Linked DNA regions of Homo sapiens: region 2 is linked to region 1. The links are contacts of gene promoters, found by promoter capture Hi-C in blood cells and fetal thymus (Javierre and others, 2016). All regions are on one chromosome and are shown on one strand. The core of a region is centred on a gene start or on the middle of the fragment in contact, and the rest is flanking DNA. Distances in the headings are between cores, read along the strand shown.

Region 1 (5,728 bases), core at 1,836-4,335:
TTTCCTTGACTGTGTAGATTGCTGCAGCTACACGTGCAGGCAGGAAACCAAATGGAGACCACCACCCTCCAGTGTAAACTCTAACATCACACCAATTTTTCTTTTTTGACTCTCTGAATGCATGAATAGAAAAATAATAAAGCAACAGAATCCACTTCAAATTGAAAGACCTGGCACCTCTACCACACATTAGGAGGTATGGAAGCATGGGCAAGTTATTTAACAATAATTATGATCATTTCTGTTGTGGGTGCTGTTAAGCACTTTGCATACTTTAATCCTTAAGCTTAGATTTCTTCATGTATAAATTGAGGATAATAATGCAACTACTTCATTTGCAAGTTGAGGCAGCAGGGTCAAAAAGAACACAGTTTCAACACAGACAGACGTGGGTTAAATGCCAGCTCCAATTTCTACTATTTGATCTCACTGAGCTCCCATTTTCTCATCTCTAAAGTAGAGATGAAGCCACTTACCTCAAAGGACTGTGGTGGGGAATTGAGCAAGACAGTGTTAAATACCAGTTGGTGTCTGTATCGCTAGACAGTGCACAATAAATGTTTATACCTTCTCTCCTATTATACACATGAACTGCTTCTGTTAATATTCATCAGCAGCAATTCAATGTCCATAGCAGCAATTCAATGTCCATAGAGTCCAAAGATGCATTTCCTTTCATAACAATGAAAATTTTTCCCAGAACAAGCTTAATATGCCAGATACTGGCCCAACAGCTCTATGTCTATGAACTCATTTAATTCTCACTACTGTTCAGTGGGGTAGGTACTACTACTGTCATCCCCATTGTACAGATGAAGACACTGAGGCACAGACTTTGGGTTACTTGCCTAGATTCAAACAGATGGTACCAGAGCTGGCAGCCTGGCTCCATAGCCTGTCCTCCTAACCAGGCTGCAATAGGGCTTAATGGGTCAATCTGTTTGAGATTCCATGCTTGGATGTAATCTCTTCTAGAGATAAGCACTGGATGCTCTCACAAACCGCAATGTGTTGATGTGACTAACTTTTCAACTTCTGAAATAACATTTTGTGTATTTTCTTAGTATTCCTAAAAAAAAACCCTTTACACTTTAAATAAGGTGCCTATAACTAGTTCATCTTGTTCTGCATGCTGAAATACCATAAATAAATGCACTTCTCTCTTCAAAGATTATGTAAATAAATCTTACATTAAAACATACCCCTGAGCTTTGGTTTAAACAATAATTTCAAGTCCAAATTAAACATTTATGTATGTGTATATATATTTAGCAGGAAAGTCTTAATATGACCTATTTTGTTAAACTAATGACATCTATACCCAATACTCCAAATATTCCTCTTATTTATAATATTCGCTGTGTAACAGTCACACAGCAGTACTGCATGGTACTTCAAAGTACTATTCCTTTTACAAGTTTAACCAACTCAGGTATTAAACATCAATGATGATAATCCATAGCTCTGCTTAAAAGGAATCTCTCGGGAACAGCTGAGAAAGAAAGGTTAAAGATTTCTATCCTTCAAAGTAGGGCACTGCAGCTACCTATAAATCATGCTCTTTGTTTATTAAGATAATTAGGCCCATCAGTACACTTAACTTTTAGACTCAACAATTGTCTGGCATGAACAATTTCCACTTTTTCTAAAACAAAGGGGATGTGTTCAAAAAGCGGTCCTCTGCATGCTCTCTGCACAATGCATGCTATTTTAAAACATGATTTATGGGTCTAATTCCTGGAGCTGCCTTGAAAAATATAGTGGGTTGTTCCTCCCATGCTCCCTATTAGGAGAAGACACTCCAATTTGAAGAGTGCACTCTGTTTCAGACTTCAGGCCGCTATATCATGTCAGCATTTTCAGTAAATACTGTTCAATTGGACTTTAAACAAATGGAATGGAGGGCCACAGCTGCAGCCACTGCAGAGATAAAGTTATCCAGCCGGGAGGCTTACATAAGAGGTGCAGGACAATCAGGGTGAAATCCAAGTGTCATTATCTGAATCCTATTTCTTGAGACTTGCCTACATTCTTAAAGTGTATGAATTCACACGCCCAGAGCTCGTTTTATTTGCCTTAGGGCATAAAACACCGGGTCGACATATAAGTTGTTTTTTCCCTAAAGGACTAGGCTCCAATTATGAAAAGGTTGGCAACTTCTGCCTAGGGGAAGAGTAAAGCGGGATGCGCGGGAAGCCTGCAGGCCTGAAAGAAATGGCTCGCCCAAAGATCCATCGCAGTGCTGGCCACACTCCCCAGAGGAATTAGGATGGAGGTGACAAGACCCTGCCCAGCCCCTTCACCCCAACGTAAACACAGAGTCAAGGAGCTTGGAATGAATAATTAGCACGCAGCAGTCGAAATGCCCTAGGAGTACCTGTCCTCTCCCAGCATATTTCCAACTGGCACATTCGTGAGATGCTGAGGTCAGCCAGCCCTGGACTCCAGACCTTCCAGCTGCCTTGTCCCCTTCTTGGCACCCCGCACTCCCTCCTCGAGCTGGAACTCTGTTAACAAGAGGTGCCACCCTCGGCTTCCCACAAGAAGATAAAAACGAACCTCTCCTTCCCACGGCTCCCTCCAACTTCAGAAACTACAGTCAACTTACTGGGACTCAGGAGGCAGGGAGTCTTCCTGGCGGACGGCGCTCGGAGGCAGCCTCTGCAAACTCCGGCGCGCAGCGCCGCCGCCCCGGCACAGCCCGGCAGCAGCGGCAAGTGCAGGACCAGGCGCCGCCGCTCTGCACCAGTCGCCTTGGCTCAGCTGTGCCGGGCGCCGGGCATTCGCCAGGGCACACGACTCAGCGAGGCGGCGGCTGGGACTGAGGCTACTGCACCCGGCCGCGCGGACCCGAGCGCTGCAGCTGCCTCCAGCCCCGGAGCGCGGCGCTCCGAGCCCCTGGTGGGTGTCTCTGGCTCCAAGGGAATCACGGCTCAATTAGGGACCTGCCAGGAGAAAAACCGATGCGCTGCCGCAGGCAGAGCCGCCAGCCCGCCCCCAGTCGGCTGGTCACATCGCGGGCGCGCAGACGGACAAGCGAGCGGGAGGGTACCGCAGCCAGCACTCGCCGCCGCGCCGCGGAGAATGACAGGCGCCGAGGCGGAGCAGCCGCGCGGGGAGCGGGGCGCGAGTGCGCATGATCCTGGCCGCAGCGGCACGTCACGGGGGAGGAGGGGCGGGCCGCGGGGCGGGAGGGGGCGAGCCGGGCGGGGCCGGGCTGGGGGTGCACACGGGTGAGGACCGGCGCGGGGCCTGGCTTGCTCGCGGGAGGATGCAGGAAGTCTTCCCTGCCCTGATTTTATGAACCCAAAGCTCTGTGGTTGAACTTGTCCCAGGAGCCCATTGTCCTTTAAACAGCACCGTTTAAGCGGTCCTTAAGGTCCCTGGGGAGCCCACAAAAGCCAATTTAATTCAGGTTACAGCTTAACCGTAAAGGGTTGCCATTTGGGGGACAGTGATCTTCTATTGTGGCTGTGCATTAAAATAACTTGGGGAGCTTGTAAGAACCCTTTGCCCCGGACGCATCCCAGAACAAGTACAGGACAATGTCTGGGTGGGGCCCACCCAGGTATCAGTAGGTATCTAAAGATACCAAGGTACAGCAGTGCTTCTCAAACCCTCAGTGTGTGACAGAATCTCCTGCGGATTGTGATGAGATGCAAGATTCAGATTCAGTAGGCCTGGGATAATGAGGGAGACATCCTTTCTAACAAGCTCTCGGAGGATGCCAATACTGGAGGTCCAGACCCCCATCCTTGCTACTTAACGTGTGATCTAGAGCCTGGAGCAGAGCTTCTGAAACAGTTGGCCTGTCTGACAGTCACCCGAGGGGCTTATAAAAAACGCAGAACAAATGCCCAGGCCGTACCCCCAGTGATAGTGGTTCTGGCTCAGCCCCTGGCAAAGGTGGGCTTCTAGAATTCCATTTGGCATCAACACTCTAAATAAATCTGATAGGGGTTTTGTTTGGGCCAAACTTCAAGTTTACACTAGCAACCTGGAATTGGGAATAAACTTTTGCACTTACAAGGAGACAAACCAAGTCTAGAACTCAGGACATCTGACTTTGAGTCAGGGATTCTAAACCAACGGGTGCTTTATCTGACTAGTCCCAATTTTCTAAAATTATGATGCATTACTTAGCAAGAAAAAACATATAAATGGCATTAAATATACACACACACACTCTATTGAACACTCGTTACACATATCATTAATGGGAGCTTAAAGGTGGCTGGGGAAGAAGGCTCATCAGGAGAGGGTAAGGAAGACAGTGATGGAGTAAGGGATGTTGTTAGTGTGTCGCAGAGGGAAGGGTATGTGGGAGGAAACAGTTTAGACTCAGCCTACAGCTTGGAAAAGCCCATTGGGGAAGCGGACCCAGGAACCAGACTTGGCCTCTTGCTTCAGAGCATGGTATGAAACTCAGGTGTTTAAGAACTTATGGAGTATAACATTTCACATACGTTACCTCACTGAAATTTCACAGTGGTCTCTTAAGTTGAATAATAATATAAAAAAGTATCCCCATTTTATATATTAAAGAAGACATCCTGGACATGAGTTGACTAATGGTGGAACTTGAATAAAAGTAGGGATCTCCGTGTTGGACTTGGCTTCTACAACTCTGGAGAAGAGGACAATTTAGACCTTATAAAGCAAATGGTTTCTGTGTTTACTAGTCACATCTTTTACAGGCTGTGCCTAAATTTGGAGTTAGGAAGGCTTTCATTCTTGTGGGGAGGAAATACATTTTGTGTCTTCCAGTTTTGCTACACTTGTTAGGATACACTTAGAACAAAATGTTCTAAGAGCAACCCGGTCCTAGGACATTGCAGTTCCACAGTGCAGGCTTCATTGAGGAGTTTGAAGGGCAATATTCACGTTATCTGGTGACAAGTGTAATTACCATCCTCATTTTACCCAGGCTCAGAAGCTAAGTGATTTAGACAAATTCACGAATGCAGGCAGGAGCCAATCTCTAGCCTCTGTCCTTTTCCTCTGCTCTCTTTTCACCAAGTAACATGCTGAGGATTGTTTTTCATTTCCAAATTTTTCATATCAGGATTTGCCATCAGTAAATTGGAACTCAAATGTATTTCAAAGCCACTCCTAGATAGAGAACCAAAAGTGTCAGGATCAATTCTTGTGCTTGTGGTAGATGCTATGGGCTATACTCTCGGTCTGAGTAATGTTTTGGAAGCAAGTATGTGATAGTTATATACAGTCTTCTAATCCAGAGGTTTGACTGGGAATGCTACACTGCCAACTGTGGTCTACCTGCCTTTATCTTTACTTCTTATCTAACTCTTCCATTACAGCCATTCTTCGGTGTGATTATGAAATTAATTCCTAAGAAAAAAGAATTCTTTGAAGGAGCTGGTACATCACAGGTTGTAAAACTTACTTCAGTTTTTAATAAGAAATATATATATATTTTAAATATGAAGGTAGCAGAATAGTCATGTTGGGACCTTTAGAAGAACCCAAAGTTGTCATTGTTTTCTTAGGTGCCCGACATTTCAATCAAAATATTTACATAATTCATTTGTATATTGATTTCAAGAGATCCAAGATTTAATTAAATAAAAAGTTACTATTAATTGGTGTGTCCTACTGCTATTGAATTTTGAACCATTGTTATTGGCATTAAATACATGAAATATATAATATTGTCTTGATACTATATTGACTGTGCTTTAATATTGACTGTGTCTTGATATTGACT
Region 2 (5,728 bases), core at 2,258-4,757, 1.0 Mb before region 1:
TGGCAGATTTGGTTAATAGAGCTCACAAGACTTCTGGAGTAAATGGCCAGCCTGAGGTTAGAAATTAAACTTCTATCCTCAGGGAAAAAGTTAGGGGCTAAGATATAAAATGTGGGAAACCCAGAGATCGTCAAAAAAAAATTTGAAGAGAAGAGAGGCCCTATGAAAAGGAGTGGAAAAATTAGTGAACACCTACAATCAGCATGCAGGCCAAAGAGCCTAAAAAGGGCAAGCAATGACCTTTAATGATGACAATAATTATGACTTATCCTTAAGGAACCCTTACTATGTGCCAGACATTCTTCTATGCACTTGCATCAATTTTATGGGGTAAGTTTTTCCCTACCCTTATCTTACAACAAAACTGAGACACATCAAAGTTAAGTGTCTTGCCCTAGGCACAGAGCTAGAAAGTGGTAAAACTTAGGATTCCAATTCCATTGCTCTCAAGAAGCAAAACATCTGGAAGAAAACCTTGAGTGACCAATGTCACAGGAATCAAGGGAGGAGAGAAACTGGATAAGATCAAATGCTAAAGAGACGCAAGAAGAAGCCACAGGACTTGGGGTCTGGTGATCTCGCACTGAAGTTTTAGTGAGAGTGATGGTAGATGTCAGATAAGCAGAAGTGGTAGGCAGTGGAGGAAAGGAAAGGGAAGAAGCGAATGAAAAGAAGTTTTAAAAAGTATTTTAGGCCAGGCATGGTGGTTCACACCTATAATCCCAGAACTCTGGGAGGCTGAGGCAGGAGGATAGCTTGAGGCCTGGAGTTCAAGGCCAGCATGGGCAACAAAGCGAGGCCCTGGCTCTACAAAAAAAATAAAAAATAAAAATTAGCCAGGCACAGTGGTGCACACCTGTAGTTCCAGTTACTCAGGAGGCTGGGTCAGAAGGGATCACTTCAGCCCAGGAGTTCAAGGCTAGAGTGAGCTACGATGGTGCCACCTCTTTAAAAAACAAATAAATAAAGTTTTCAAATGTGTGTGTTTAAGAGCAAAGAAGACAATGCAGAAGAGGAAGCACAGTGGGGATGGGGAGGGGCGGGGCAGACCAGGGGCCAAGGAAGGTTCAGGGATGCTGTCCCTCACCCAGGGGCATTTCAGTTCCTAAACTGAATGAAACTAGATTAAATCATGTTGGCATTCTTTTAAAAATATGTGGCAGTTTTCAGATTAGAAACTTTGCATTAGAAACTTAGGAAATATTCCCTATGGGAATGCCACTTCTTTTCTCCTTTATTTTCCATCCCAATGGGGGAAAAAAGACTATTATAGCACAGTATTATAAGAAAGAAAAAAAAAAAAACTATCCTCTTTGGAGCCTCTTCTCTAGAATAAAAAGGCATAACCTAGCAGGCATATGCAAATTATTTGGAACTAAATGTAAATACTCTTAAGTGATAAAATGGATTTGTATTTTTAAAGAAATCGTTTATTTGGCCCACTGACTTGCAAAGAAATTCTCACTTGTTAGGAACCCCTAACAGTCTACTTAGAATATTCTTCTGCCCTCTCAAAATAACTAAAATTGAGTTAATGTCAGCAGCCAGGACAGAAGGTTTTTGTTCTTCACACAGTGTTTCCTTCAAATACTGAAGAGCAAGAGTGACATATAATAAGCATAAGATGTCATTCCCTCTCTCAACCTATCTCCAAACATGTCGTCTGGATAAGCCTGTACCTGGGAAAGTCAGAATCTGTTGAGAAGTCTCAAGAATGCCTGAATTCTCTATCACAAGGAGTCACAGACTGGATTCTAAAATACACAAAAGAGGCTGGGCGCAGTGGCTCACACCTGTAATCCCAGCACTTTGGGAGGCTGAGGCGGGCATCACAAGGTCAGGAGATCAAGACCATCTTGGCTAACACGGTGAAACCCCGTCTCTACTAAAATTACAAAAAAATTAGCTGGGCGTGGTGGCGGGCACCTGTAGTCCCAGCTACTTGGGAGGCTGAGGCAGGAGAATGGCCTGAACCCAAGAGGCGGAGCTTGCAGTGAGCCGAGATCGCGCCACTGCGCTCCAGCCTGGGCGACAGAGACTCCATCTCAAAAAAAAAAAAAAAAAATACACAAAAGAGCATTACTATTTTCACTTCGGTCATCTCAGTACATGGTCCTGCCACTGTCATTGTCAGATCATGAGAACACCAGAAAATAGTGGAAAGAGAGCTTGATATTTGTCATATACTTAATTAGATACAATAGACAGATTTTTTCATTTTAGAAATAGAGTTTGAGTTGAAATGTTATGGTCACTCCACATACTGATGGGTGATTCCATGATTACAGGCTCAGGTAAAAGATCTCCAGCCAGTGCTTCTCAAATAACTTTATTACATACCAGAGCCACCAGGGGAGCCTGTGGAACTACAGATTCTGAGTTAGAAAGTCTGGGGTGGAGCCCAAGACTCTTGCTTTCTGGACAAGCTCCAGGTGATTTCTGATGCTGCAAGTCTGGCTTTAGATAACAGCTGCTAAGTTTGCCTGAGGATGAAAGCTTGAGTAAACTCTGAATACTGATGTTACAGGACTCCAGCACTTTCTAACTATATACATTTGAACATAAGAGACAGATTTTATAGCTAAAAAGGTTTGGCTTTTTGTATATATTTCTTATTGATACAAATATGTGTACATGTATATGGGGGCACAAATATGATACTCTATCACATGCTTACACTGTGTAATGATCAAATTAGGGGTTTGGGGCATCTATCACCTCGAGTATTCGTCATTTCTGTGTGTTGGCATTATTCCAAGTCCTCTTTTCTAGCTATTTTGAAATCTACAATACATTGTTGTTAACTATGGTCATCCTACACTGCTATCGAACATTAGAACTTATTCCTTCTAAGGTATGTTTGTAACCATTAACTAACCTCGTTTTATCCTCCCCCCACCCACTGACACATCTTCCCAGCACAGCCACTGTGAAAAACAGTATGGAGATTTCTCAAAACAATTAAAAACAGAATTAACATATTAATAGATCCAGCAATCCTACTACTGGGTATTTGCCCAAATGTAAAGAAATCAGATGTCAAGGATATTTGCACGTGCGCGTTTATTGAAGCACTATTCACAATAGCAATGATATGGAATCAACCTATATTCATTAATAGTTGAATAAAGAAAATTGTGGTATATATACACAATTTATTACTACTTGGCCATAAAAAAATGAATCTTGTCATTTGCAGCAACATGGGTGGAACTAGAGGTCATTATGTTAAGTGAAATAAGCTAGGAACAGAAATACAACTGTCACACGTTCTCACTCAAGTGGAGCTAAAAACTGTAGATCTCGTGAAGAGAGAGTAAAATCACAAATTCCGTGTTATACACATTCTACCACAATTTAAAAAAAAAAAAAGATCACATAATTATAAGAGGTGAGATTGTCACTCACACTTTAAATTACTGCCAGAGGCTGGGAAGAGGAGGAGTTGAGCAGGGGTGGGGGTAGGAATAAAGGATGGAATAAAGGTGGAAGGGGGAATAAAGAATATATTTATTACCAAGGAAGTGTACATTTCAAATGGTACAGATGGTAAATTATATACATATATTTTGTCTCAATTAAAAAATATAAAAACTATAAAAAATTAAATGTTAAAAATAAAAGATTTTGTTTTTTGTTTTTCTGAGACCCTAACAGTTCACAAAGCAGGCAAGTTCAGATAGGACAAAACCGGCTGTGTCACAACAGGGTGTGCACATGCTTGGTCTTTTCAACGGGATAATTATTTCGACTCTGGAATAATAATAATAATAATAAACAGAGTCCAGAATAATGGCTCAGTAATAAGAGAATGAAAGCAGGCCATTCTTACTAAAAGTATTAACAATGTATTTGAGAGTACAGTGGTCTCTATGGTGAGATTACTGGAAGATTAAAGAGGTGTCATCCAAGCTAAATGTTTCCAATTTGCTGAATGAGTTTAAAGACAGCTCTACAGGGGTGCATAAACACAAGCGACTGTCACAACCCTAAAAGGAATAAATGAACTGGTGGACTACATTTTAATGTGGAAAAAACTTCCACAATGCTTACACAGCTATTCCTGGCAATGAGAGGCTCATATGAAACACTTTTCCTTAAGGGAATGGGAGTTTCTAGAGAACAGTAGGCACTTATTTAAAATTAATATTGGACCACAAACTTCTATCATCAGCAAGCTGAGACCTAACAAACAAGATCAAAATACCAAGTCATACATTTAGGCAGTTAAACTTGCTTTTAAACTGTAATAAGCTAATTAGATGCATTCAGTGGGTCAACCATTAAAAAAAATATACACTGCACAAATCTTGTCAATTTTTCATTAAATTTTATTAAGAAACAAGAGTCCTGTGCCAAAAGTGATAGCTTCACCATCTGAACCTGCTACTCTGGTTAAGAAATGACATTTCCAATTCCAAATTTCACATACTTTCCTTTATAAAGACAATAGCAGAAGACCAATGCTACATGTAAACTCAATAGTAGCCCATTATCTTGAAACCAAATCAGTGTGTGGAAAGCTTCAAAACTTTCTTTGCCTTTTGGCACAAGACTGAAGACATGAGATTTTTTTTAACATCTGACCATAATAACTGCTGTATTAATCACTGTGAAGGCTCCTTGTTGACTTTTCTCAGAGTTTTATAAAACATCGCTATCAAACAGGTATTTATCAAAATAGGCATATAATTTTATTTATTCCAGGAAGCTCTCTCAGTGTTAAAAGGATAAGATAATTAACGTTTAGATGGAAAGAGAGCATGGGATGGAAAAATGCTCTCCTGAAACACAGCCAGATCTATGAAACCATACAATTACTGTCATGTCATCTCTGAAAGATCAAGTTAACAATGTGTATGATTTAATAATCTTACTTAATATGGCCAGGAATGCTAACAAATCGCCAAGCCAATTTGTTCTTATTCTTACGCAGGTAGCTAGACTACACCTCCCAGGCTCCTTTGCAGTTAGATGTGGCCATGTGACTAAGTTCTAGACAAAAGAAAATTTTATATATATATATATATATATATATATATATATATATATATATATATATATATATGTATGTATATATAACATGAGGGAGACATAAAGATTGTTGCCAATAGCCACTGAGATTTTGGGAGTTACTGATGGAAACATATTGCCAAATATAGCTTCAGATGTATTTCTTCAAATTCCTCTTTTAAAATGATCATATCCCCAGGTAAGAGTTTTGGAAACAGATAGTGGTGATGGTTACACAATGATGTGAATATGATGAATACAACTGAACTGTATACTTAAAAATGGTTAAAATCACAAATTATATCTTATATACACATATTCTACCATAATTTAAAAAAAAAATGATCACTTAATTATAAGAGTTGAAATAAGTTGGAACCATGATTAAGAAGTATTTTAAATACTCTTTCCTGAAAATATAAGCAAGACCTTTGTGTCCAGACTTGTTCAGAAAATGCTCTAAGTGAAGAAGAGGAAGCCCTGGGAGAGGCAGGCCTGGTTAGGTTGTCACAATAAGGAGGGTAATTGTCAGCAGGAGGAGAGATGCTGGGACCAAGAATATATCACAGATCCTTCAATTGCACTCCCAGGTATTTACCCAAATGAGCTGAAAACTTATGACCACACAAAACCCTGTAGTGAATGGTCATAGTGGCTTTATTCATGATCACCAAAAACAAGAAACCACCAAGATGTCATTCAGTAGGTGAATGGA

Evidence for each region. The method cuts DNA at HindIII sites, captures the fragments that hold promoters and counts their contacts. A CHiCAGO score of 5 or more calls a contact.
Region 2: a contact is called between a fragment that was not itself captured here and the fragment with the promoter of PAG1 in region 1, in 1 of 17 cell types (total B cells). The highest score is 5.4, in total B cells.

What each region holds. Positions count from the first base shown.
Region 1 is chr8:81,108,983-81,114,710 of GRCh38, forward strand. It overlaps PAG1 (phosphoprotein membrane anchor with glycosphingolipid microdomains 1), which reads right to left and starts at 3,086. Exons shown (of 9, transcript NM_018440.4): 1 at 2,609-3,086. RefSeq lists an enhancer at 2,532-2,601 and a silencer at 3,092-3,221. The HindIII fragment of the contact is 5,316 bases long and covers 705-5,728 here.
Region 2 is chr8:80,089,418-80,095,145 of GRCh38, forward strand. All of the region lies in intron 1 of TPD52-MRPS28 (TPD52-MRPS28 readthrough), which reads right to left. All of the region lies in intron 1 of TPD52 (tumor protein D52), which reads right to left. LOC105375918 (a long non-coding RNA gene) reads left to right here. Exons shown (of 3, transcript XR_007060978.1): 3 at 2,289-2,807. Among named protein-coding and RNA genes, the nearest start is that of MRPS28, 62 kb to the left of the region's middle. The HindIII fragment of the contact is 2,027 bases long and covers 2,495-4,521 here.